2 separate regions of the Homo sapiens genome follow, and region 1 is linked to region 2. Evidence: promoter capture Hi-C in human tissues and cell types (Jung and others, 2019). All regions are on one chromosome and are shown on one strand. Each heading gives the region's core, a stretch centred on a gene start or on the middle of the fragment in contact. The rest is flanking DNA. Distances are from core to core; before and after follow the strand shown.

Region 1 (2,876 bases), core at 18-2,517, 570 kb before region 2:
ACAACTTAATTTATTTCATCTTAGCAGGAAGTTTCTTTAGAAGCACGAAAGATTGTGTTTATAACAGTATTCAGTATAATAGTGTGGTTTCTCTCATATTGAGCCAGATGGCGTTCTCTAGCTACAGAATGAGGAACCCTTTAGCTGTGTGTCATTTTATGAGCCGCAACATACATTAATTTAAAATAAAATTATTATGAATTTAAAAATTGATATATAGCAAATGTAGAGAATTTTCCCCATGGTTGTAATAAAATAATTTTTGTATCATGATATGTAAGAGCAAAAGAATAAGAATGAAAACAATTATACTTCTAAGCATTCATTTTGACAAAGATTACTTTAGAAAGTAAGCAAATTAAAGTAAAACAGAATAAACAATGATAAGTTTAATTAGAAATGTGACCACCATTCCCTTGGTGCTCAGTTCAGACTTAAGTCCTCTATTTATTTTGTATTGTGATTTTCTATTTTATTCTTACTCATAGTAATAATTACTTGAAAATATTTTATAAAAACATTAACATATACTCCCTGTTTGGTCACACAATTTGGTGTTTTATGGAGAGAAATAATTTTATTCACAAATATTTATTGAACATCTAGTGTGTGTTTATCTCAGTTGTGGACCATGAGGGTACAACTGTGGACAAAACAGTCCTGCCCTCCCGGAACTTAGCCGTGAAGGGAGGCAGATAATAAAGACACAGGTAAAATTTGTTTGTATGAGGGTGGTAAGTACTGTGGAAAAAAAATAAAGAGAAGGGGGGTATAGGAAAGTTTGTCATTTTAAATAGGATGGTCAGGGAAGACTTCACAGAAAAGATGACTTGTAGGCATAGACTTGGAGGCCATGAAGAAGTGACCCATGAGGCTGCACAGGAGAATGGTGTTTCAGGCAGAGAGAATGGCAAGGAGGCTGTTGTGGATGGAGAATAGTAAGGGGAGAGTAGTAGGAATTTTTCAGAAACACGAGCTACATTGCACAGGGCCTTGTAGGCTGCTGTAAAATTGGCCTTTATTCTGAATGAGATGGGAAACCATTGGAAGTTTTCAGGCAGAGTGAAGTGACGTTGCTTCCATTTCAAAAAGATGACTTTTTCAGCTATTCTGAGAAGAAGACAGTAGGGAGTAGCAGGAAACCAGTGAGAGGCACCTACAATAATCTGCAAGATGATGGTACATCACCACCATCCAACTACGGTGGCTGCACTGGAGACATTGAGAAATGGTTGGATTTTTAATTCATTTTGAAGGTAGAGCCAGAAGTATTTGCTAACAGATTGGATATCAAATTAGAGTTATCAAGGCATTGAGTCTGAATAATTTGGAGGATGTAATTACCATAAGTGAGGTTTGGGAGTGCTGTGAAGGAGTTGATTTCATAATTGTTGTGGGGCAGGAGATAAGCAGTTTTATTTCAGATGAGTGAGTTTGAGAGGAAAGGTGCATTTTCTACATACATAAGTTGTCCTATTCCAAGTGTGTGCTATACTTAAAGGTATAAAAAATAAAGGAAAATGAAATATGGTGTGCTCCAATCTGCGAAATACATATGTTTTGCATCTGTAATTGTTTTAAAGATACATTTGATTGCAAATATTTGACAACCAGTATTTCTAGCTTTTCTTCTTATATCGTTGGTCCATCGAATGCTTCTTTTTCTGTAAGACAAGAGCGTATTTTTTGTGTGTTATATTGGTTTGGTTTTCAGACAGATATACCCAGATATTCCATTACATTTCTATATTCCAAGGACTTATTTTTCAAGTATTATCAACTTTGGATGGCTGTGTGTTTATTTCAAAATGATATCACAGTTGCCCAAATATTTTTGAAATTCTGTTTTTGTGTTAATTAAAGAATTAGCTTATAAGCCACTCTGGAAAATCAGTCTTGTAGGAGTTTTTAATTTTTATATATTGACTTCTATACAACCTTTGCTTTGACATACTGTACACCGATATCCCTTAAGAGCCAAAAACCATTTACATGCCACGTTTGTTTTTTCAGCTGTCAGCAGACTAATGATATGGACTAAGAAGAATGCATGAGGGCTCTGCCTGGTGGAGACTATGCTGGCGGGCCATGATGGGGTCTTCCTGTTCTCTGCTTCCTGCCCCAGGACTAGGGGAGGAATAAATTATATATATAATTTATTTCCAAAGGATACTTTTAAAGTAAATGACACATATTGTTATATTTGCTAAAATGGGCTATTGTGGTTGGGTGTGGTGGTTCATGCCTGTAATCCCAGCACTTTGGGAGGCTGGGGCAGGTGACTTCCACTTTTCATTATATTTTGCATAGAAGTTACTGCATTGGTCTGATGAGAAAGAAAAACTGCTTTAAATTCAGGCCATTTCTTCCATCAAGTAAAAAAAAAAAAAATTCTCCCTGGAGTAAAGCTTTTTGCCAGTAGGGTTCTGTAGCTTGTGGGATGTACTAGGAAAAGGTGCACAAAAATGTGAAGCACATGAATGAAAGAATCCGTCTTTTAGCCTGTGTGTGAAAAGCCTGGTTTCTTTTTCATACTGTTATAGGAAGTATTTCAGATTTTATACATATTTGCTTTTTTCCATTTTGAAGTGGTTGCTCTGTGTATTCTTCCCAAAGGTATTTAAAATGAGAATACTTCTGTGGAATGTAAATATTAAGATTGATGTCTAAAGGTCATTTTTAAAATTTAAAACATCTGCTCTCCTTCATACTTAAATATTTATTGAACAGAAGTTGTATAAGCTGATGATGAGTCTTGATCTGGAATAGACCCTAGTCTGTGATACCAACACAGATTTGAATGAAGCTTGCCAAGGTTAGCACCTACTAGGTAAGTTCTACCAGCTGGGGGTAGACATCATCAGAGGTTTCCTCAT
Region 2 (2,796 bases), core at 285-2,784:
GGCCCCCTTCAGCAATTCAAGTGAATTTGAGCTTTAATCTTTTGCACCTTGCACCTACCTCTCCGTCAGAACCCCATTTCATCTGAGCTGGTTGCTTTCTATGTGCCTTTTTGGCTTTGGGATGGACACTGTAACAAGTGATTTGCATTTCTGTGCCTCACTGTACTATGCCCCTCTCTAAGGCTGGCACAGGTCTCCTTCATTTTATACTCTACGACCTAAGAGTGCTTATAGCACAATGGGTGGTTGGTATCTATTAAACAAATGAATGTGTAAATGAATGATAGAAAGTAATTGGTGAAAAGTACGCTGAGATAGAGTCTGATCACAGGCAAAAAAAAAAAAAAAATGGAAGAATTAATAGTCCAATGGCACTTTTCTTATAAAACTGAATTACATAGTCAAACCATCATTTAAAATAATCTTACAAGGAAAACAACATTAATGTGCGTCTGTTGAGACGGATTATGCTGTTTTGGAATTAGGAAGAGAATGTGCAGTTCGCTGTTTGCTTTCAGACTGTTTGTTTGTTTTGTTTATTAAACTGGCGTCTCCAGCTCTGCAGCCCAGCCTGTGGAACCTAAATGGCCCAGGTCCCAGGAGTTCCCATCGGAGCCGTGGGCGTCCCCAGGGTTTAGAAAGGCTCCCCAGGGGCCCAAGCTGCCGGCGAGTGCAGCTCCCGCCGGCGCCACCTCTGCGGTCTGGAGCGGCGAGGACGATCCCAGAGAGGCGCCCCCACTGCCTCGGTCGTCGGGTTCTTAAGTTTTTCTCTCCAAAAATTTAATGGATAGTTTTCTTTTGCTTCTGTTTCTGACTTGATTAAAGAGGCGGAAAAAAAGGAGTTTGACTCCAAGAAGAATGATAGTAGCAGAAGGCGCATCTGGCTTTACTTTCCAAATTCCATCAAAGTTTGTGTTTTGTTTCATTTGACAGCGATCCCGTGAACGTCTCCTCTGGGGAAATGGCGCGACCAAAGCCCGCCAAGCCCAGCCTGCGAACTGGAGGATTTATTAATGTAATATGTTAAACAAAACCTCGACAGACACAAACTCAAAGGAAACCGTGCGCTCCTTAAGTCAAAGGCATCTGTTCTGGAAGCAGAACCCGGTTTGCTGTTGGTAACCAGCGTTAAGAGCAGGATTTTTAAACATGATAATGGATAAAATAAAAGAAAAGCGAAGTCCCGCGGTCCTCTGACTCCTATTCATTATCTCCAGCAGCATATGGGACCATTCTCCTACGTATCCTCGCCTTTTTCTTCTGAAAAAGCAAAAGCAACCAAGCCTGTCCCGCTTCAGAGCAATCCTACTCTTTGTGCCTGAGTAGTGCCACCACCACTACTTCCTCCTCCTCCCGCCTCCTCCTACCCCGCCCTCCTGCCGCTGGCTTTCGCTCTGGCGAGGAGGCGGCCGGCTCCCTTTGCGCCGGGAAGCCGGAGCCGCGATTGGGCGACGGTCCCTGAGCCTCCAGTTCTGCGTCGGTTTCAAGGCTCCTCCCTCCTGGTGAAAGACAGACTACGGGGCGCCTGGAAACCGGTCCGAGGGCGCGCGAGGCAGAGGAGAGGGAGCGAGTTGAGGGATTGACACAAATGGTCAGGCGGCGGCGGCGGAGAAGGAGGCGGAGGCGCAGGGGGGAGCCGAGCCCGCTGGGCTGCGGAGAGTTGCGCTCTCTACGGGGCCGCGGCCACTAGCGCGGCGCCGCCAGCCGGGAGCCAGCGAGCCGAGGGCCAGGAAGGCGGGACACGACCCCGGCGCGCCCTAGCCACCCGGGTTCTCCCCGCCGCCCGCGCTTCATGAATCGCAAGTTTCCGCGGCGGCGGCGGCTGCGGTACGCAGAACAGGAGCCGGGGGAGCGGGCCGAAAGCGGCTTGGGCTCGACGGAGGGCACCCGCGCAGAGGTCTCCCTGGCCGCAGGGGGAGCCGCCGCCGGCCGTGCCCCTGGCAGCCCCAGCGGAGCGGCGCCAAGAGAGGAGCCGAGAAAGTATGGCTGAGGAGGAGGCGCCTAAGAAGTCCCGGGCCGCCGGCGGTGGCGCGAGCTGGGAACTTTGTGCCGGGGCGCTCTCGGCCCGGCTGGCGGAGGAGGGCAGCGGGGACGCCGGTGGCCGCCGCCGCCCGCCAGTTGACCCCCGGCGATTGGCGCGCCAGCTGCTGCTGCTGCTTTGGCTGCTGGAGGCTCCGCTGCTGCTGGGGGTCCGGGCCCAGGCGGCGGGCCAGGGGCCAGGCCAGGGGCCCGGGCCGGGGCAGCAACCGCCGCCGCCGCCTCAGCAGCAACAGAGCGGGCAGCAGTACAACGGCGAGCGGGGCATCTCCGTCCCGGACCACGGCTATTGCCAGCCCATCTCCATCCCGCTGTGCACGGACATCGCGTACAACCAGACCATCATGCCCAACCTGCTGGGCCACACGAACCAGGAGGACGCGGGCCTGGAGGTGCACCAGTTCTACCCTCTAGTGAAAGTGCAGTGTTCCGCTGAGCTCAAGTTCTTCCTGTGCTCCATGTACGCGCCCGTGTGCACCGTGCTAGAGCAGGCGCTGCCGCCCTGCCGCTCCCTGTGCGAGCGCGCGCGCCAGGGCTGCGAGGCGCTCATGAACAAGTTCGGCTTCCAGTGGCCAGACACGCTCAAGTGTGAGAAGTTCCCGGTGCACGGCGCCGGCGAGCTGTGCGTGGGCCAGAACACGTCCGACAAGGGCACCCCGACGCCCTCGCTGCTTCCAGAGTTCTGGACCAGCAACCCTCAGCACGGCGGCGGAGGGCACCGTGGCGGCTTCCCGGGGGGCGCCGGCGCGTCGGAGCGAG

What was found. The method cuts DNA at HindIII sites, captures the fragments that hold promoters and counts their contacts. A contact is called where the count stands out against the background at its distance.
Region 1: a contact is called between a fragment that was not itself captured here and the fragment with the promoter of FZD1 in region 2, in 1 of the 25 tissues and cell types used here (thymus).

Annotation. Positions count from the first base shown.
Region 1 is chr7:90,690,560-90,693,435 of GRCh38, forward strand. All of the region lies in intron 2 of CDK14 (cyclin dependent kinase 14), which reads left to right. Among named protein-coding and RNA genes, the nearest start is that of CDK14, 96 kb to the left of the region's middle. The HindIII fragment of the contact is 3,260 bases long and covers 1-2,876 here.
Region 2 is chr7:91,262,899-91,265,694 of GRCh38, forward strand. FZD1 (frizzled class receptor 1) reads left to right here and starts at 1,535. Exons shown (of 1, transcript NM_003505.2): 1 at 1,535-2,796. The coding sequence starts at 1,983. RefSeq lists an enhancer at 1,320-1,499 and silencers at 1,620-2,129, 2,220-2,279. The HindIII fragment of the contact is 5,225 bases long and covers 1-2,796 here.